Linked DNA regions of Homo sapiens: all the other regions are linked to region 1. The links are contacts of gene promoters, found by promoter capture Hi-C in human tissues and cell types (Jung and others, 2019). All regions are on one chromosome and are shown on one strand. Each heading gives the region's core, a stretch centred on a gene start or on the middle of the fragment in contact. The rest is flanking DNA. Distances are from core to core; before and after follow the strand shown. Region 1 holds the start of CYYR1 (cysteine and tyrosine rich 1). Region 2 has its middle 100 kb from the start of APP-DT. Region 3 overlaps APP (amyloid beta precursor protein). Region 4 overlaps APP-DT (APP divergent transcript). Region 5 has its middle 88 kb from the start of APP-DT.

Region 1 (4,144 bases), core at 826-3,325:
ATGCCTGGGATTTTCTCTAGGTTCCAACCATTGTCCCAGTTATTTAGAAATTGTGCTTCCCAGTGGAATGTTTTGATCAGGCTACAAGAATGACAGGACCTAGTGAACAAGTTCTTGAACACCCTGGATTAAATGTTTGAATTTTAACCTAAGGGCAACAGGATGCTACTGAGTGAGTGAACATGATGAAATCTGTAGTTTAAGAAGAAATATTCCAGCTTCAGTCTGGCAAACATCTCTGAAGGCAGGGAGGCTGAATATAATCAAGACTATAAAAGTCTAGATTAGGACAGAAATAGATGATAATTTAAAATGCGTTTGGGTGGTGTTCAGGTGGACAGATTAGGTGAACTTGGTGATAGATTGGCCAGCGAGGATGAGAAAAAAGGTGGAACTGATCAGCCTTCTTTAGAACATGGTGGATGGTTGGGCCTTCACCAACGTGTAAAACACAGTAAAGAGCTTAGCTTATGTTTATTTTGGGGGTGATGTTTCCTCCCACTCTCGTATTCCCTTGCAGCACTGCATTTACAGGAAAAAATTCCTGGAAGAGAACTGACTAAATTAAGTACATGTGTATTTGAATTTTCGTACATATAACCACACCGTTTCCCTTAAGAGTTCATTTGGTTTTGTATTTGGTTGGTTTGATACATGAAAAGTGATGTCTCACTGTCAATTTTATTTCTATATTTATATTTATTTGTTTTGTATGAAGTGTCTATTAATATCCTTCCTCAGTTATCTCTTGGTTGTTTTTCCTATTGATTTTTTTAAGCTCAGTATAATAATGAGATTAGGACTTTGCATTGCAAATATTTTTGCCAGTTAAATGTCTGCCAACTGGAAGTATTAATTCTTATTTAGTCAAGTTGGTCAATATTTTGTTTTATGGTTTCTGAGTTTTTTATAATGCTTAGAAAAGGCTTCCCTATTCCACAATTATTTGAATGTTATCCTCTTATTTTTTAATCTAATATTTTCATAGTTGTATCTTAAATATGTAATTCATATAGAACTGATTTTGATGTAAAAAGATAAGGCTCCACAGATGGCTATTTACGGCCTCAACACTTTTCACTGAGTAACTCATCATTTCCCCTACTACTTTACATTGATATTTCTTTAAACCATAAATTAAATTGCTGTACATACTCATGTCTACTTTTGGGTTACCTTTTCTCTTTCACTAAGCCTATCTATTCCAATGTTAATCTAAACTGTTTTAATTATTGTGATATTATATGTAATATCCCATTCATTATTCCCATTCATTACTCTTGTTTTAAATAGATATTCTTACATATTTATTTTCCATATAAACTTTAGAATCAGATTGGTTTGAAAAAAATCATGTTATTTTAAAAATTGGGATCAATTTTATTTCCAAATGTATATAATAATTTGGGGAATCTTGTTGTCTTTATCCTACTAAATTTTCTTAGTGAAAAAAGTATCTCTTTACTTATTCGTATCATTTTTTTTCCTTCATGCATAACATTGAGAACTTTCTGATTTTTGTTTGCAGGAAAGAAAACTATTGGTTTGCTAAACAAGAGCTTTATAGTTGATTAACTTTGATTTTCCATGTATACACGTATTTCATTTGCTAATGACAATTTAGCTTTCATTTTTCATAAATCTTTTTCTTTCTCTTGTTTAATTGCATAGGCCAGTAACTCCAAAACGTCAAAATCATAACGACAGTGTGCACTGTTGTGTTTTTTTTTTCTGAATTTACAGGAAAAAATAATAAACATTTTATCAGCTTTCAGCAGAGATGCCATACACTTTCTGTACTTCCCAATCCTGAGTTTTCTTCACTGTCACTCTTTGTCGAATACCTTCAACCCTGAAAATTCCTTCCCTTTGTTTAAAGATAAAAAGCAAAGTTGTTCATCCATTGCTTAGAAAGGAAAAATTGTAGTGGAGGCAAGGTTAAAAAGGAGCAGGCTGAACTCCATAGCAATCGCCAAAGCAAGGGGTTAGGAAAAGTTTCTTGGTCCCCTAGTCACTCTTTAGAAGGAAGAACCCGGGCTTGGGGAGGAGTCGGGGCCACCCCCGCCCCCTGCCCGCAGTCGTTGCCACCCGCGGAGATGAAATGTGAGCCTGGGTGGCCAAGGACGCCGGAGTGGCCGCCTTCCCCGCGCCTGAGCGCAGTGGGGCGAGACAAAGAGACCTGGGCCCCCAGCGCAGCCCGTCTCGGGCCACGGGCGCCCCAGCTCCGCGGAGTCCCGCAGTCGCTGGCCCGGGACGCGCCCGGCCCGGGCTCCCTTGGAAGGCTCCCTAGGCAATGGCCGGGTCTCTGCTCCACCCGGCTCTCAGGAGCGCTGCTCTCTCCATCTGATCGCCCTCCATCCTCCCCATTCCCTCCGGTTCCGGGCTCTCCCTTCGCTCCAAGCCTCAGGCCACCGGCTTGGATGGACGCTCCGAGGCTACCCGTGCGTCCAGGGGTCTTGCTTCCGAAGTTGGTCCTGCTCTTTGTCTACGCAGGTCAGTGACGGAGGGCGGCGGAGAGGGTCAGAGGCTCGGGGCTGCCCTTGGGTCACGGTCCGGGCTAACGTGGGTTGAGCTGGACGGACCGGGACCTTTGCAGAAGGACCTTTGCAGACGCTTCTGCCTTTTCCGCGAGGCGACGGCAGAAACCCGCGCACTTCCAGCCGCACGCGGTTTTGTTTTGTTCCTTTTCCTTTAACTTTTACCTTTTGCATTTCTTTTCTTTCCCTTTCCACCTTGGAAATAGCAGTCTCGTGTTTAGGGGATTTGACTCTCTGGATAGAGTAAACTATATCCAAATAAACTTATCTGGATAGGCTAGGCAGTGGCCTCTCCATCTTCTGCTTTCTAAATAGTCCTGGTTTTCCCTCTTGTGAATAAAAAAAACTTAGAGCTTTGTTTTCGTTCTTTGGGAGATTCACAAGTGTGGTAGACTGAGCTATTGGACTGAAGTCAAACACAAGGTTTTTGAGAAGCATGAATTCACCCAGGGTCTAATCTGTACAGGTTCGTTGATTTAGATAGACACTTGTTTATAAGAGAAGGGCATCTGGTTTCCCTTCTAATTATTCGTAGTAAGAACTGCTAATAATTAACGAAGCAAAGTGGGTTTTCTTGTTTGTGATTAATATGGAGCCCCAAATGGCCTTTCATTGGTTATTCAGGTATAAAGTGTCTTACACACGTGGTCTTTGCATCAGTTCATATTCACAAAACAATGCAAGCTAAAAGCAAAGTTCTTTGTAAAATGTTTTTGTGTCTCTAACGTCCTATGACAAAAATCGCAGGCTCACCCCTGAGCCTCCAATACGAAATGTATATATAGCACTGAAATTTACCTTTGATACTCAAAAAGATATTGCAACTGAAATGATGTTCTTCAGTGTTGCACCTGAGTATTAAAAGAATTGAATTTCTCATTCAACCTTGCTAGAAAAGAGTCACCATAACTTCTGTAGACATTTTTAGCCTGTTTATTGAAATGCAAATTAGTGGCTGTCTAGGAGTTACCATTTTAAAGATGTTTTATGGCAGGAAAAATGCTGACCTTCTAATATGAAAATTCATAAAAGTAGGATAAGTTCTTCGTATTTAATGAAGAGAATTACATTTAATCTGTTTACAACATTTATTTCTTTTATTAAATTTGTATAAGGTTTTCAGAATTTGAGGGATTAACAGAGTCAACTGCATTAATATTCATTTTCTATTGAAAAAATCTCTTTATTAGTTCTTTCGAAGTAATTATGCTTTTCACTTCCTCTGCTCGACAATATTTAATACTTTCACTCACACTTATTCAACCACTCCATTGAACCACAATTTTGTTTGTTTGTTTGTTTGTTTATTATATTCCCTGTGGTAAACTGAAAGCTTCTGCTTTACACATCTGCCCCCTCCTCCTGTTTCCCCAGTGCTAGGTGCCCAGCTCCTCAGGGCTCAGGAAATCAGCGAAGCTGGCCAGCAACAAGGGTGGTTAGTTTAGAAAGTTTTCAGTCCATTCATTTCTCTTCTTTGGAATCCCTCTATCATAAGCTACAAAGTAGTTGTAAGCCAGTGCTAAGTTGACTTACTATCTTTGCTAAGAAGTGTTTAGCTAATAAGCTCTTTGGTGTCAATTCCTGGACTTGTTATTCAGAGGCCTTTT
Region 2 (4,291 bases), core at 1,191-3,690, 300 kb after region 1:
TTTTGTGAGTTTTGCATGCCTTGACTATAGTGAATTATGCTGCAATGAACAGGGGAGTGCAAATATTTCTTTGACATATCAGTTTCAGTTCTGGGGATGTATACTTAGAAGTGAGATTGCTGGATCATATGGCAATCCTATTTTTCGTTTTTTGAGGAACTCCCATACTCTTTTCCAAAATAGCTATACTAATTTACATACCAATAAACAGTTCCCTTTTCTCCACCTCCTCATCAAAACTTTATCATTCCTATTTTTTAATAATAGCCATTCTAACAGCTGTGAGGTCATATCTCATTGTGGTTTTAATTTGCATTTCCCTGATAATTAGATATTATGAACTTTTTTTCATATATCTGTTGGCCATTTATATCTCTTTTGAGGAATGTCTATTCAGATCTTTTGCTCAGTTTTTAATCAGTTTGATTTTTTACTATTGAGTGGTTTGAGTTCCTCATATATTTTGGATATCAGGCCCTCATCAGATGTCTAAGTTTTTGCAAATATTTTCTGCCAATTCATGGGTGTGTCTTTACTCTGTTAATTGTTTCCTTTGCTGTGCTTTTTAATTTAATGCAATCCCAATTGTCTATTTTTGCTTTTGTTGCCTGTGGTTTTTGGAGTTCTGTCCAAGAAATCATTGCCCAGATCAACAACATGGAGCTTTTCCCATTTTCTCCAAGCAACTTCACAGTTTCAGGCCTTAACATTTAAATCTTTTACTCATTTTGAGTTTATTTTGTATATGGTGTAAGAAAATGATCCAATTTCCTTCTTCTGCATGTGGATATCCCGTTTCTACCAATGTTTATTTGAAATCTTTTTCCTTTTTTGATGTAGGCATGTATTGTCATAAAATTCCCTCACAGGACTGCTTTTGCTGCATTCCATAAATTTTGATATGTTGTGTTACCATTTTCATTTGTCTTAAGATATTTTTTAATTTCTCTTTTAATTTCCCCTTTGACCCATCAGTTATTCAGAAACAGGCTGTTTAATTCTCATATATTTGGGAATTTTTCAAGGTTCCTCTTGTTATGGATTTCTAGTTTTATGCCATTGTGGTCAGAAAAAATACTCAATATTATTTCAATCATTTTAAATGTGTTAAGACTTGTTTTCAGCCTATCATATGATATATCCTGGAGAATGTTCCAGATGCACTTGAGAAGAATTTATATTCTCTTGCTGTTGAATGGAATGTTCTATAAATGTCTGTTAGGTTTATTTGATCTGAAGCGTAGTTCAGGGCAGGTGCAGTGCCTCACATTTGTAATCCCAGCACTTTGGAAGGCCAAGCCAGGTGAATTGCTGAAGCCCAAGAGTTTGAGGCCAGACTGGAAAACATGGCAAAACCCTGTCTCCACAAAAAAATACAAAAATTAGCTGGGAATGGTGGTGCATGCCTGTAGTTCCAGCCACTCAAGAAGCTGAGGTGGGGGTATCACTTGAGCCAGGGGAGGTAGAGGTTGCAGTAAGCCATGGTCTTGCCACTACATTCCAGCTTGGGCAAAAGAGTGAGACCCTGTCTCAAAATAAATAAATAAATAAAGCATACTTCAAGTCCAATATTTTCTGTCTAGATGATCTGTCCAATGTTAAAAGTGTAGTATTTAGTTATCCTACTATTATTATATTACAGTCTATCTCATTCCTTGGATCTATTAATATCTGCTTTACCAATTTAGGTGTTCCAACTTTGGATGGATGCATATCTACAACTGTCATATCTTCTTGATGAATTGACCACTTTATCGTCATATAATGACCTTCTTCACCTCTTTTTATAGTTTTTGACTTAAGGTCTATTTTGTGTGATATAAGTATAGCTATCCCTGCTCTATTTTGATTTCTATTTCCATGGAATAACTTTTTCCATCCCTTCATTTTTGGTCTATGTATGTTCTTAGAGATGAAATGAGTCTCTTGTTGGCAGCATATCACTGAGTCTTTTTTTTGGTTAATCCATTTAGCCACTTGATGTATTTTGATTGAATAACTTAGTTCATTTACATTTAAAGTAATTATTGATAGATAAAGACTTACTATTGCCATTTTGTTAATTGTTTTCTGGTTAATTTGTAGATTACTTGTTCCTCTCTTCCTCTCTTATGGTTGTCTTTTGTGGCTTGATGATTTCCTATCACAGTATGCTTTGAATCCTTTCTTTTTATCTTTGGTGTATCCACTAAGGAGTTGTTTTTTTTTTTTTTTTGGCCACTATGAGGATTATATAAAACATCATATGCTAAGAACATCCCTTGTTAAGCTGATAATGATTTAACTTTGATCACTTGCACAAACTCTATACTTTTATTCCTCTCCATTTGTTTTTTTGACATGTTTTGTAATTTTTAGTTTGTGTCCCTTAACAAGTTAGTGTAACTACAGTTGTTTTTATAGTTTTGTCTTTTAATTTTCATGCTAGAAACAAAATTTATTTTCACACCACTGTTCCAATCTAAGAGTGTTCTGAGTTTAACTACATACTTACTTTTACCAGTAAGTTTTATGTTTTAATATACTTTGATGTTGCTACTTAACAATTTTTCCTTAAGCTTGAGGGACTATTGTTAGCATTCTTGTAAGGTAGGTCTAATGGTGATAAATTCCCTCACCTTTTGTTTGTCTCAGAAAGTTTTTATCTCTTCTTCACCTTTAAGGGACAGGATTGCTGGGTATAGTATTCTTGGTTGGCAGGGTTCTTTTTTTTATTTCAGTTTTGAATATATCATCCCTTTCCCTTCTACCCTTCAGGATTTCTGTGGAAAATCCATTGACAGTCTTCTAGAGGTCCCATGTATGTAACAAGTCACTCCTCCCTTACTGCTTTCAATATTCTCTTTGTCTTTAACTTTTGACAATTTGATTGTAATGTGTCTTGGTGTGTGTCCCTTTGAATTTATCCTATAACAGACCATTGAGCTTCATGGATATGGATTTCTATTTTCTTTTCCAGACTTAGGAAATTTTCTGCCATTATTTCCTTGAATGTTTTCTGTCCCTTTCTGTTTCTTTTCTCCTTCTGGTACACTGATAATGTATATATTATTCCACTTAATGGTGTCCCACAAATCCCCTACACTGTCTTCACCCTTTTTCATTCTTTTTTCTTTTGACTTCTTAGATTGGATGACTTCTAATGACTTGTCATCAAGTTTGCTAATTCTTTCTTCTGCTTTATATAGATTGGTATTGAAACCCTCTATTAAATTTTTGAGCCCCATTATTGTATTCTTCAGCTCAATTATTTTTGTTTGCTGCTATTTTTATATTTTCTATCTTTTTTTAAAGTTCTCAGTTTGTTCTTGCATTGCTCTCCTTGTCTCAGTAAGTATCTTTATGACTGTCCTTTTGAATTCCCTGTCATGTAAATCACATATCTCCACTTCATTGGGGTTGGCTTCCAGAGATGTATCTTATATTTAGAACACATTTCCACGTTTCTTCATTTTTCCTTGGCTCTCATGTTTGTTTCCATGCATTAGATAAAAGAACCATCTCTCTCAATTTTGTTAGACTGGTCCCATGTAAAAGATGTTTCTCCCCCATCAGCCCAGCCAGAGATTCCTGGTGCTTCCAAACTCCTTGTACTCATCTAACCTGATGTCTTTGTTCTTAGTGTCCCCAAAGAAATTAGAGAGTGTCAAGTCATGCTATTGCCTTGAGAGAAGTGGGATAGAAGTCAGTTCCTTAGAATGCAGCTGAAGAGGTTGAGGTGTAAGATATGTTCCAGTTCCTTCTTTCTTTGCAGAGAAGTTGACAGCCAGAGTTTATCTCACACTTGTTCTGCTGTACACAAGGTGAGTGACTGAGAGAGATACTTGTATTCTTGATCAGACTTCTCACTTTGGACCTGTGGAAATATTTGCTGAAAATTTGCATGTTTAAAAGTCATCTTTATGTTCTCTGTAACTTAGGAAACTCAGGAATGTAGAGCTCCATTAACTCCAAGATCTAGGTAATTTAGAAGCCAGTACCTTGTTGGAAACTGTAAAAGATGGAGTCCTTGGTGCTTGCAGAAACTACTTCCAGGACCTGCAGATCTGTATTTACTGATGGAGCAAGCCAGAGAAGATATTTCAGAGAACGCCCACTTTCCTGTTCATGCAAGCAAAAGTCTCTCACTCTTCTAGTAGGGACAGGCTTCTGGTCTGGAGTTATTGCTGAAACAAGCCAGAGCAGAAGGGTCAGGGACTTCTCACTTTCCTTTTCAGTCATGGAGAGGTCCCTCTATCTCCTTCCAATGAGATATTTCAGGAGTTTATCTCCTGAGCAAACTGAGAAAAAG
Region 3 (4,383 bases), core at 207-2,706, 420 kb after region 1:
TTTTAAAACAGCCCTTTACACATTTAATATGGAAATGGTAACCTACAGGTCTGTATTCCATACAGATTCCTGGGCTCATTTTATCTGTGAATTCCTCTGGGCGTCATGCATGCCCAGGACTGACTTTAAAGCAGAATTATCCAGTAGAGGTATAATAGGACCGTTAGATCTAATTTAAAGTTTTCAAGTAGCCACATAAAAAAATAAGCAGGCGAAATTAATTTTAGTCTGTCACTAAATTCAAAATGTTATTTCAACAGGGGGTCAATATAAAAGCTATTTATGAAATACATTATTTTTTCATATTATGTCTTCAAAATGTTCACATTTCACATATTTATTTTTTATTTTATTATTACTATTTTTTTGAGACGGAGTCTCACTCAGTCGGTTGCCCAGGCTAGAGTGCAATCTAGCTTGCTCATTGCAATCTTGGCTCATTGCAACCTCCACCTCCTGGGTTCAAGCAGTTTTCCTGCCTCAGCCTCCTGAGTAGCTGGGATTACAGGCGTGTGCCATCACACCCAGCTAATTTTTTTATTTTTGGTAGGGATGAGATTTCACCATGTTGGCCAGGCTGGTCTTGAACTCCTGACCTCAAGTGACTTGCCGCTTTGGCCTCCCAAAGTGCCGGGATTACAGTTGTGAGCCACCGCACCTGATTACATATTTCACATATTTTAATTCAGACCAGCTGCATGTCAAGTACTTAGTAGCCACAGATGGCTAGTGGTTACTGTATTGGACAGTGCAGCTCTAGGAGAGTCTCTTCAACCTGCAGCTGTCTAGGAAGAGAATCATAGTTTCTGGAACAGGTAGAATCTATAAGACCTCCTTTTTAAGCTTCTCCACTTTACAGATGAAGAAAGTAATATCTGGAGATGTTGAGTTGTTCAAAATCACCCACATTTTAAGGATCAAGAGCCCAGTCCCTGTTCTCTAACTTCTAATCTCTTTCTTCATCACTTTTTCTGCTTCATGTTGCTGCATCCCCTTTAGTTACTAAGGTACTAACGTTAGGTTGTTGCTATCAGTTAAATATTAAGCCAGGAGCTTTAAGACAATCTGGCCCACTTGAAGGCATGGCCTGATTTGGACAAAACTTGTGGGGTAGGATGAATAGAGTTACCAGGCATATCTTCAACCTCTCTGTGGACTAGTATTATACATATATGAGATGATGTAGGGTCCAGTGATCAGTTCATCTTTTTCTATTGTGAGCACTGTTGGAATAGGAATGGGGGGACCTTTTGGGACCCAGGATATGTGATTCTGAACCCTGAAATGTCAGATGCCCACTAAAAGGAAGGGGAGAGATGGACCTGTCATTACCTTACACATTTTATTGTCTGTATGGGTATGTAAACATGTACAGATTATAAGGAATTGCACTTCATTTCTGGGCTTCTGGAAACACAGGTATTAAGATTTCATTTACCTCCCCTTGTTTTGGAAGGCTTATTGTGTGTGTGCCCATAGTTCTTACCCAGTTACACTTAAAGTATGATACTTTTTGACAGCTTAAGCCTATTGCATTCCTGGCATGTAAAATAGTTATTTTCAGAATGTAAGCAAATGTGGAAAGCTTACTGCCTGACATGGAGGGTTGGAGAAGTGGGATTGGTGTTCTTTTGTTGTAAACTCATTTTTGTGAAATATTTGCTTTACAACGTGAAGCATGCATGATGGATGAACTTTTAGAATTGAAAGTTATTTTTCATTTCATTCCTGAAATATTTACCAGCATGGATGTTGACTGAGTGCTTTGAAGAGTTTGCTTAGTCATATAACTTAGGTTTTATGATTTTAGATTTAATTAAACTTAAAGTTTTCCTGTTTGATCCTCAGGACTTCTCATCTGTGGCAAGGCTTTACTCACAAAGGAAATATCAACCTTGAAGTTAAGCATGCCCTGTGTTTCTTTATATTCTGATGAAAACGATTGAAGTTTGCCAGTGCTGTGTCTGGGACAATGCTTAGAGGATTCATGGCTTGTAGGAATGAGTTAAAAGTACAAGGATATTGGCTGGCATGGTGACTGTCGCCTGTAGTCCCAAAACTTTGAGAGTCTGAGGTCAGAGGATTGCTTGAGCTCAGGAGTTTGAGACAAGCCTGGGCAGCATAAGGAGATCCCATCTCTATGTTTTTTAAAAAAGTGAAAAACAACAACAACAACAAGGTACAGGGGTATCTGCGTTTCCTTAGGCAGCTGTCTTATATACCTTTAACCTTAAAAAAATCCACCATTTTTAAAACAGTGTTTTCTGTTGTTTTTCTTAGTAAATATAAACAATAGGAACTGAAGTTTAGGGCTTAAAATTTTTGAGAGAATAATTTTTATTTCAGTAGCTTTTGGGGTACAAGTGGTTTCTTGTTACTTAGTTGAATTACGTAGTGGTGAATTCTGAGATTTTAGTGCACTTAAGTAGGGTACCTTGTACCTAATGTCTAGTTTTTCTTTTAATCCCTAGTCCCCTATTACCCTCCTCCTCGTGAGTCTCTAAAGTCCAATATGTCCCTCTGTGTGCCTTTGCTTATTCCTAACTTAGTTCCCACTTATAAGAGAGAACATACGGTTTTTGGTTTTCCAATTCCTGAATTACTTTACTTAGAATAATGGCCTCCAGCTCTATCCAAGTTGTTGCAAAAGACATTATTTTGTTCCTTGTAATGGCTGAGTAGTAGTCCCTGATATATATATGCCACATCTTCTTTATCCTCTCATTAGTCAGTGGCCACTTAGGTTGGTTCTGCATCTTTGCATTTGTGAATTGTGGTCCTGTAAACATATGTGTACAAGTGTCTTTTTCATACAATGACTTCTTTTCCTCCGGGTAGATACCCAGTATTAAGATTGCTGGATCAAATGGTAGATCTACTTTTAACTCTTTAGGAAATCTCCATAATGTTTTCCATAGAGGTGGTACTAGTTTACATTCTGAGAGAATAATTTTTGTAAAATTATGTTTAAGCTAGATTTGGAATTGGGAAAGAATTACATTCTTTATAGGAAGCTTTTGAAAAATATATTTAAAAATATATAAAAATATGCATAATCCTACCACCCACAAATGTCTGTATTATTATGTCATTTCTAAACCATTTTTGAGATTATGCTATAGATTACGTTTTAGATCCTACATTTTATTTCTTAACATTAAATCTCATACTATTTTAAGTTCTTTGTACATGTAATGTTTACTGAATGGGTAAATCTGTTTAGGGAAACTGGAGCTATGTAGTTGTGGACTTGTGCTTTTGTTTTGTTTTGTTTTGTTTGTTTGTACATTTGCTTTTTAGAAATGTCTATTCAGATCCTTGGCCCATTTTTTTTTTTTTTTTTTTTTTTGAGATGGAGTCTTGCTCTGTCGCCCAGACTGGAGTGCAGTGGCGCGATCTCGGCTCACTGCAAGCTCCGCCTCCCGGGTTCACGCCATTCTCCCGCCTCAGCCTCCCGAGTAGCTGGGACTACGGGCGCCCGCCACCACGCCCGGCTAATTTTGTTTTTGTTTTGTATTTTTAGTAGAGATAGGGTTTCACCATGTTGGCCAGGATGGTCTTGATCTCCTGACCTCGTGATCCCCCCGCCTCGGCCTCCCAAAGTGCTGGGATTACAGGCGTGAGCCACCGTGCCCAGACAGACATGTGCTTTTTTATTTGGCATTTCTAGCCTGAACATAGGCTGGAAGTAGTGACTTAGAGAGGGATTGTTTGCCAAATATCAGGTAATATTTTAATTATTTATTATTTATTGTAATGCTGTGAATCAGGAGTCCCTAACCCCTGGGCCATGGACTGGTACCGGTCTGTGGCGTGTTAGGAGCTTTGCTGCACAGCAGTAGGTGAGCAATGGGTGAGTGAGTGTTGCTGCCTGAGCCCTGCCTCTTGTCACATCAGCAGGGCATTAGATGCTCATAGGAGCGCAAACCCTATTGTGAACCGCATGTAAGAAAGTGAGAGCTGCGTTGCACACTCCTTATTAGAATCTAATGCCTGATGATCTGAGGTGGAGCAGTTTCATCCCGAAACCAAACCACAAAATTGTCTTTCATCAAACCATTCCCTGGTGCCAGAAAGGCTGGGGACCACTGCTATAAATTGCTGCTGTCAAGTAGTGTTACGCATGGTGGTCTTTAACATAAAAAAAAAAGGTAATGAACGTACACCACACAGATTAGCAAAAATAAGGAAAGGCTGATCTAGTAGTTCAAACAAGCAATCCTCTTATTTAATGGTTCTGTGATTGCTCGTGTAGGCAGAAGCTTAACTGTAAGTTGTTGCATTTGACAGGCAAATGTAGCTGGAGCTGGAATGTAGATATTAGTGAAATTGTGATTTCAGTTTACTGGAGCCATTCAGTGGGAGCATGAAGTGGGTTACATG
Region 4 (4,520 bases), core at 360-2,859, 370 kb after region 1:
AGGTATTTACTCTTTTATAAAAAGTCCACTTAATACAAATGAATTTTTAAAAATTCAACATCCCATAAATTCCAAGACTCTCTATAGGCTTTAAACTGACACCAGCACAAACACATTGATAAAATTTCTTTTTCTTTTTTTCTTTTTTTTTTTTCCTGAGGCAGGGTCTCACTCTGTCACCCAGGCTGGAAGGCAGTGGTGCCATCTCAGCTCACTGCAGCCTCAACCTCCCAGGCTCAAGCAATCCTATCTCAGCCTCCTGAGTAGCTGGGACCACAGGTGTGCACCACTACCCCTGACTAATTTTTTTATTTTTCACAGAGACAGGATTTCACCATGTTGCCCAGGCTGGTCTTGAACACCTGGGCTCAAGTAGTCCACCTGCCTCAGCTTCCCAAAGTGCTAGGATTACAAGCATGTGCCACCTCGCCTGGCCTAAATTTTCAATGATAAAGATAATTCATATAGATAGTCGGGGACAGCAGTGGGCATCTGTAGGCCCAGCTACTTGGGAGGCTGAGGCGGGAGGGTCCCATGAGCCTAGAAGTTTGAGGCCATCCTGGGAAACATTATGAGGCCCCATCTCTAATATGAATAAATAAATAAATAAATTGTTCCCACAAGTTAAGACACAGAAGTAAGAGAGTTCTTCTCAGACAGTGTGGTTTTATAAAAAGGAAAACACTACAAAAGAACCACCATAAATAATTTTTAAGTACTTCGAAAATGTATTCCTATCAATTCAACTCAGATCATAGTCAAAATATTCATCAGAATGTAATAAGCCATATTAGCAAGTAATAAACTCCTATTCTCTAGGACATAACATTCAAGCTACTTATCCAGAAATCCAGTTGTTCTATGCAGCAAAATTACATGTACAAATAATATATTTAATTTACTAAAACAAAATCCTCAAAGTTACAAGAAACCCGATATAATAAAAAGATATTCACAATTACTAGTGGCTATGGTTATTGGATGGATTAGAGATCAACAAGAAGAAATAAATCAAGATAGTAAACTCTATAATGTATAAGAGAAGGTAGTTTAATCTCTCCATGGGGGAGTTCTTGTTCCCAGAATCTCAAAAAATTTTATACCTTGGATACTAATAATCAGCAAAATGCTCCCAGTGGTATAAGTAACATTTTCATTTTTCAGGGAAAAAAATTAAGATACAGAATAGTTAATGAAGAATATTCACCAATTAATTTACCATAACTATAAGCTTGTGGGGTTTTTTTCCTGGGGGAAAGAAGAGATCCATTTTTCCCTGTGCCAATTCTGGAATATGAATTAAGGGAAGAGTTTAAGGCAATGGGAAGGGGTTTGGATATTTTTTAATATTTGAAATCTCTAGGAAACCACACAAATGTAGACACAGCCTATAAACCCCCAGACATGATTAGCAAAAAGCATGGAACGAGAAATGACACAATCCTGCATACTTGGCTTGGGAGCTCATTCCTGCCTCTTCATGTCTGTAACTGCAGCAACAACCACAGGACCCAGCACGTAAGAGGTGCTCTCTAAATATTGGTTGAATCAATAAATTAATGAACCTTAATCTCAACTGTACAGTCTTTTCATTTGAAAAATCAGAAAAGAACTTCTTGTCCAGTGTCTGACTCAGCGCTTGGTGTTTTCCTTTATGCTCATACTCAAGCTTTGTGCTTCTTTGGATTTTCCAAAACTCCTCTGGCCCTACTGCCACATCAGCACAACGTGACTGAGATGTACATTCCACCTTTTGATCATTTAGGGTGGAATCTGACTGTTTAATTTTCCTTGCCCTTTGGGAACCCAGTTTAAAACATTTGTAATCTTTGTCCTCTCCAAACAACATATTTTAGTTCACACTTAATAAAATGTGCTAAAGATTCTATTTATGTATGATTCATAATGCTAATGAATTCATCAATCCCATTATCACACATCATTCTGTAAATGTCAAACAGGCTGTAGCTGACAAGTTCATTGCCATTAAATATAAGTGCATAGATGTGTACACATTTGCCCTTGATGAGGGTCATCCATGGCCAACCTTTGACTTTCTATGTTTCTGCTATTTGAATGTCAATAATTGTATATAATTTTCACATTATTCTGTGACTACATGTCAAAATTTCCAAACATCTATGCACATTTTTATATAATTAAATGTGTGTCCTTTACTACTTTGTAAATGAGTGCCCTCTTTTTGAAAGTGGTTAAATCCTTCTATTTTAACATTTGCATTTGCTTCTCCTCCTGCCCTTTTCTGCTTCCCTCACCTTCTTACTAGTTTCTTCCAAAACTAGTAAGTTCAATAAACCACTTGCATAAGGATCTCTATCTCAGGTTCAGCCTCTAGGAAACCTCAACTAAGACTCTCTGAAAGCATCCACTTGTCCCAAACGGCAATAATAATCTTTATCTGCACAAGGCTTGGCTACATATAGGACAATATTAGAAAGTTCTTAGCCTGGGCGCAGTGGCTCACGCCTGTAATCCCAGCACTTTGGGAGACCGAGGCAGACGGATCACGAGGTCAGGAGATCAAGACCATCCTGGCTAACACGGTGAAACCCCATCTCCACTAAAAATACAAAAAATTAGCCAGGCGTGATGGCGGGCGCCTATAGTCATAGCTACTCAGGAGGCCGAGGCAGGAGAATCACTTGAACCCTGGAGGAGGAGCTTGCAGTGAGCCGAGATCGCACCACTGCACTCTAGCTTGGGCAACAGAGTGAGACTCCATCTCAAAAAAAGAAAAAAAAAGAAAGTTCTTTAGAACTTAATTTTTCTTTTTTTTTTTTTTTTAGCAATTCATGTGTCACTTTAGAAAGGAGATAATTCATGACGTTTTATTCCCATGCAGCATTTGATGACAAATGAGGCACAGAGATGTTAATGGCTTGTCTGATGCCACACAGCTATCTAGGGGACAGTTATAAATCATTGCATAATCCCATTGGTGAGCTGTATGTTAAGCAATTATATCTCTCCTTCTTTGAAGATTCTTTATCCCAGAAGCCCTTATGATCCAGCAACACTAGATTACTTGTACTATGCTTGTTTCTCACATAAGCTGTGTCTTAGTTTACACTTTTCTCCATGCCTGGAAAGCCTCCTTGCCCCACTCCAGCCCCTGTATACCTCCACTTCCTACTCATATCTACCTTTCAGGTAGCATCATTCAGTTACTCCAAGATGAGTTGGGAGCATCTCATCAATATCATATTGTATTAACCAAGTTGTTATAACACAACAACCAGATTGTTCACATTTTATTCTTAGATGTATGCCAGTAGTGCCCACGAGTTCCTCTCTTCATTTTTGAAAGCTGTACGGCTGCACCAGGTGTGGAGGCTCATGCCTGCAATCCCAGCACTTTGGGAGGTCAAAGTGGAAGATCGCTTGAGGCCAGGAGTTTATGACCAGCCTGAGCAACACAGCAAGGCCCTATCTCTAAAAAATAAATAAATAAATAAATTCGCCAGCCGTGATGGTGTGCACCTGTAGTCCCAGGTGTCTGGGAGGCTGAGGCAAGATGATCACTTCAGCCCAGGAGTTCAAGGCTGCAGTGAGCTAGGATCACACCACAGCACTCCAGCCTGGACTAGAGAGTGAAATCCTGTCTCAAAACAACAACAATAAAGAAAGTCATACATCTTTATTATGCATATATGTATGCATGTATGTATGTATGTATGTATGTATGTATGTATGTATGTATTTATTTATTTTGAGACAGAGTCTTGCTCTGTCGCCCAGGCTGGAGTTCAGTGGTGCAATCTCGGCTCATTACAACCTCCGCCTCCCAGGTTCAAGCAATTCTCCTGTCTTAGCCGCCCAAGTAGCTGGGATTACAGGCATGCGCCACCACACCTGGCTAATTTTTGTATTTTTAGTAGAGACAGGGTTTCACCACGTTGGCCAGGCTAGTCTCGAACTCCTGACCTCAAGTGATCTGCCTGCCTCGGCCTCCCAAAGCGCTGGGATTACAGGCGTGAGTCACCATGCCGGGCCCCACATCTTTATTTTTGATCCACATTTACTGCCTCTAGCTAAAGGCAGACATACACAAGTAAATAGAAAAAGCATGATACTCAAAGTATCACAGCAACCCTGTAAGTTGGGCATACCAGATGTTCCCATAAGGTAGCCTACAATTATGACTGCTGTGAATAAAAGTTGTCACTAGTGTCAGGCTCCATCTTGACCCAGGAGAGACTAGAATCCGATACGCCTACTGAAGCTGCCCAGTGCCTACAATAGTACTTGGTATGCAGTAGGTGCTCAGTCATTATTAACTTAAGATTCTTACAGGAAAGTCTTTTAGGGGGATAATGGTACAGTCCTTAACTCTTGATCTTCCCTGTAACAGAAAAACCAAGAGAAGGCTGAAACCCAGCAATTCCACTCCTAGGCATATACTCAAAGGAAATTTTTTATTTTTAATGCCCACACAAAGACTTATGCACATATGTTTACAGCAACAGTATTCATAATGGCCAAAAGGTGGAGACAACCCA
Region 5 (4,496 bases), core at 1,978-4,477, 320 kb after region 1:
TTACTGAAAGAAATTAAAGACATCTGGATAATGAAAATATATATTGTGGTCATAAATCAAAAGATTCAAAATTATTAAAATATCAATTCTCCCCAAACTGATCTATAGATTCAACAGAATTCCAAAATCCCAGCAGTGTTTTCCACAGAAATTACAAGAAAATTCTAAAACTTACATAGAAATGAAAACCAACTAGCATAGCCAAAATAAAAGAAAAAGTAAAGTTGAAAGTCTTTTGAAAAAGAAAAATAAAGTCAGAAGTCTTACACTCAGGCTTACTATAAAACTTACACCTAGACTTATTATAATGCTCAAGTAATCAAGACATCTGGTATTGACGTGTGAATCAATGGAACAGAATAGTGAATCTAGAAATAGACCTACACTTATATGGCTCATTGATTCCCAACAAAGGTGCCAGTGTATTTCACTCTGGAAAGGATACCATTTTCAACAAATAGTGCTGGGAAATTGGATATTTATATACCAAAAGAAGAGAGAGAACTTTAATCCTCATCTTCACACTATATCCAAAATTTAACTCAGAAAGGAACACAGACCTAACTGTAAGGGTTAAAACTAAAATTTCTGGAATAAAACACAGGAGAAATTTTTGTTACCTTGGGTTACACTCAATTTCTTTAAAAAGCATAAACTATAAAAGCAACAAATTTACGAACTGGATTTCAAAATATTTAAAAGCTTGCTTTTCAAAAAGTATCATTTAAAAAATAAAAAGGCAAGTCACAGAGACTGGGAGAAAACATTTGCAAAACATATAGCTGATAAAGGATCTGCTTCAAGAATATATAAAGAATTTTTACAACTCAGTAAGACAAACCAATAAAAATTAGACAAAAAAATTCAAGCAAACACTTCATCAAATAATATCTATAAATGATAAGTAAGTACATGCAAAGATGCTCAGCAACATCGGTCATTAAGGTAATGAAAATTAAAAACACACTGAGATACTACAAAACACTCACTAGAATTTTTTTTAAAAGACAATACCCATCTTGGTTTTGTGTTGCTATAATAAAAATACCTGAAACGGTGATGTATGAATAACAGAAATTTATTTTCTCACAGTTCTGGGAACTGGGAAGTTCAAGACTAAGGTGCTGGCAGGTTCCTTGTCTAGTAAGAGTCTGGTCTTTGCTTTCAAGGTGGTACCTTGAATGTTGTATCCTCCAGAGAGAAGGAACACTGTGTCCTCACATGGTAGAAGAATGAAGGAGAATGAACCCACTTCTGTAAGCCCTGTTTATAAGAGACCTAATCCATTCTTGAAAGAAGAGTCCTCATGACTCAGTCACCTCTCAAAGACCATACCTCCCAATACTATTGCACTGGGCATTCAGTTTCCAACACGTGACTTTTGGGGACACATTCAGCAGATAGCAATACAAAATGCTGGTGAAAATGTGAAGCAACTGGAATACTCATATAATGCTGATGGCAATACAAAATGGTAGAGTCATACAAAGTGTTTGTCAGTTTCTTATTAAGTTAAATATACTTTTTTTTTTTTTTTTTTTTGAGATGGAGTCTTGCTCTGTCACCAGGCTGGAGTGCAGTGGCACAATGGAGCTCACAGCAACCTCCGCCTCCCAGGTTCAAGCTATTCTCCTGCCTCAGCCTCCTGAGTAGCTGGGACTACAGGCGCACGCCACCATGCCCAGCTAATTTTTGTGTTTTTAGTAGAGATGGGGTTTTACCATGTTGGCCAGGATGGTATCGATCTCTTGACCTCGTGATCCACCCGCCTCGGCCTCCCAAAGTGCTGGAATTACAGGCGTGAGCCACCACACCCGGCCCAAGTTAAATATACTCTTACCATACAACTCAGCAGGCTCACTCCTAAGTATTTACCCAAGAGAAATAATAACACACACCCAGACAAGACATGTACTTGAATGTACATGAATAGCCTCTTTATTCATTAATAGCCAAAAAGTTGTAAACAACCCAAATGTTCATCAACTAGTGAATATAAACAAATTATTGTATAGCCATATCATGATATATTATGTGAAAAAAGTGAGACACAAAAGACTGCACACCGTATGAGTCTATTTATATAAAATTCTAGATAGGGTAAAACTACAATGACCAAAAGTTATTTAGTGGTACCAGGAACAAGAGATAGGGAGAAGCAATTGACAGGAAAGGAGTAGGAGAGAATTTTCTGGCAGGATTGATATGTTTTATATGATGATTGTGGTAATTATACAGCTGTACTACATGATTAAAACAGAATTACAAATGTAAAATTGGTCAATTTTGTTGTATGACATTTACTTCATTAAAGATGATATGGTTTTGTTTTTTTTTTGAGACGGAGTCTCACTCTGTCACCCAGGCTGGGGTGCAGTGGCGCAATCTCGGCTCACTGCAAGCTTCACGCCGTTCTCCTGCCTCAGCCTCCAGAGTAGCTGGGACTACAGGTGCCCACCACCATGCCCAGCTAATTTTTTTGTATTTTAATAGAGACAGGGTTTCACCGTGTTAGCCAGGATGGTCTCGGTCTCTTGACCTTGTGATCCACCCGCCTAGGCCTCCCAAAGTGCCGGGATTACAGGCATGAGCCACCACCCAGCCCAAGATGATGTTTTTAAGAACAGAAAAATTTTAGAAAGGTCATATTCCACCATAATATTCACTCCATAACAGAAGTCTAATTTCAAAAACAGGCTGCTTTATATTATTCATAGATAATTATTACAACCTTGTGTATTAGTCTCTTCTCCCATTGCTATAAAGAAATGCCAGAGACTGGGTAATTTATGAAGAAAAGAGGTTGAATTAGCTTACAGTTCTGCAGGTTTTAAAGGAAGCATAGCTGGAGAGACCTCAGAGAGCTTTTACTCATGGCAAAAGGCAAAGCTGAAGCAGTTATGCTCATACGGCTGAAGCAGGAGGAAGAGAGAGAGAGGGGAGGCATTATACACTTTTAAACAACCAGATCTCATGAGCACTCACTCATGATCAAGCAGCATCAAGGAGGAAATCAGCCCCCATGATCCAATATCACCTCCCACCAGGCCCACCTCCAGCACTGGGGATTACAAGCAATGAACAGTTGGAAATTACAATTAAACATGAGATTTGGGTGGGGACAGAGATCCAAACCACATCGCCTTGGAAAACTCCTAAGAATCCTCTAAAAACTATACTAATAAAAATAATATGAGAATTCAGTAAGGTGATTATGAAATCAATACACAAAAAAAATTGAGCTTTATTATATGCAAATAATTAGTAGAAAGGTTACTTATAATAAGAAACATCACATTCCAAAAGTTTATAAAATACATATGTAATAACTATATAAAGAACCTTTAAATCACTCCCGAAGGAAAAAAAAATGAAAAAATAAGTAACTGTAAAGGTATACTCTGTTCTTGGTTAGGAAAACTCTGGGTTAAAACTCTTTTTTTATTGAGCTATAAGTTAATTATAATCTCAATCAATGATATTCCATTGGAAATGGAAGTTAATATGTATACTTCAGTTGTTAAGTCACAATAAATTCCATTCACATCAAAGATGTATATGCTAAAAATAAAGCCATAAAGTTTAGGAAAAAATATGTTTTTTTAATTATCCTAGGGTTGGGAAGATCTATCTAAGCATACATAAAATTCAAAATTCAGACACATAAAAACTTATCAATTTGACTACATAAAAATCTTAACTCTCTGTGATGCAAAAATGTATTGTAACTAAATTTAAATGATAGATGACAAAGTAGGTAAAAACGAATTTGCAACACAAATGATGAAAGGCTAATTTCCTTAGAATTAAAACAGCTGTTACAATTTAATTCTTTTTTAAAAAGACAACCAACCAATAGAAAATATGACAAATATAGAAAGTAATAAATAAGAGGAAAACGTGCAAAGTGGCCCATAAAAATAAGAAGATGCTCAACTTCACTTATAATTAAAGAAATTCATGTTAAATAGAAATGAGGGGCCATTTTTCAGATAGACAAGAAGCCAAATATTTGTTAATGTTTGGCATGTCCACGTACACGTAATACAATAAGAAACAGAACACAGAGCTTTATAACTATGGGACAACAAGAGTTGCCTTATATGAAAGTAAGTAATACACTGAATCCCAGTGGGTCCCCTGCTCCACCCCAGTGGGGTGAGATGCAGGGAGTACAAAGCCCTGGGTACCTTCAACCTAAAGCAGAGGACTCCAGGTTCACCTCCAAGAGGCATAAGGAAAGCACTGGGAAACTGCATTCTCACTTTCATCAAGCTGTACTGCAGTAATTCTCCAACTTGGGCCACCATCAAAATCAGCTCAAGATCTTGTTAAACCCAGATTCCTGGGCCCTGCCACCAGAGTTTCTGATTCAGATTTAAGATGGGACTTGAGAACTTGCATTTCTAGTAAGTTTCAGGTGGTGCTACTGCTGCTGCTCCAGGTGTTGAGACCCACTGGTCTAGCGAGTACCCTTTCCCTTTCTTGCTAGCTGT

Evidence for each region. The method cuts DNA at HindIII sites, captures the fragments that hold promoters and counts their contacts. A contact is called where the count stands out against the background at its distance.
Region 2: a fragment that was not itself captured here is called in contact with the fragment with the promoter of CYYR1 in region 1 in 2 of the 25 tissues and cell types used here (dorsolateral prefrontal cortex and lymphoblastoid cells).
Region 3: a contact is called between a fragment that was not itself captured here and the fragment with the promoter of CYYR1 in region 1, in 2 of the 25 tissues and cell types used here (heart left ventricle and stomach).
Region 4: a contact is called between a fragment that was not itself captured here and the fragment with the promoter of CYYR1 in region 1, in 1 of the 25 tissues and cell types used here (heart left ventricle).
Region 5: a fragment that was not itself captured here is called in contact with the fragment with the promoter of CYYR1 in region 1 in 2 of the 25 tissues and cell types used here (dorsolateral prefrontal cortex and lymphoblastoid cells).

Annotation. Positions count from the first base shown.
Region 1 is chr21:26,571,217-26,575,360 of GRCh38, reverse strand. It overlaps CYYR1 (cysteine and tyrosine rich 1), which reads left to right and starts at 2,075. Exons shown (of 4, transcript NM_001320768.2): 1 at 2,075-2,493. The coding sequence starts at 2,421. The HindIII fragment of the contact is 7,865 bases long and covers 1-4,110 here.
Region 2 is chr21:26,272,354-26,276,644 of GRCh38, reverse strand. No RefSeq gene overlaps it. Among named protein-coding and RNA genes, the nearest start is that of APP-DT, 100 kb to the right of the region's middle. The HindIII fragment of the contact is 9,017 bases long and covers 1-4,291 here.
Region 3 is chr21:26,151,251-26,155,633 of GRCh38, reverse strand. The region is part of intron 1 of APP (amyloid beta precursor protein); the gene reads left to right. It overlaps LOC124900466 (a long non-coding RNA gene), which reads left to right. Exons shown (of 2, transcript XR_007067829.1): 1 at 1-4,383. Among named protein-coding and RNA genes, the nearest start is that of APP, 17 kb to the left of the region's middle. The HindIII fragment of the contact is 4,365 bases long and covers 1-3,638 here.
Region 4 is chr21:26,196,709-26,201,228 of GRCh38, reverse strand. All of the region lies in intron 2 of APP-DT (APP divergent transcript), which reads right to left. Among named protein-coding and RNA genes, the nearest start is that of APP-DT, 28 kb to the right of the region's middle. The HindIII fragment of the contact is 3,797 bases long and covers 1-3,507 here.
Region 5 is chr21:26,256,804-26,261,299 of GRCh38, reverse strand. No RefSeq gene overlaps it. Among named protein-coding and RNA genes, the nearest start is that of APP-DT, 88 kb to the right of the region's middle. The HindIII fragment of the contact is 3,349 bases long and covers 1,553-4,496 here.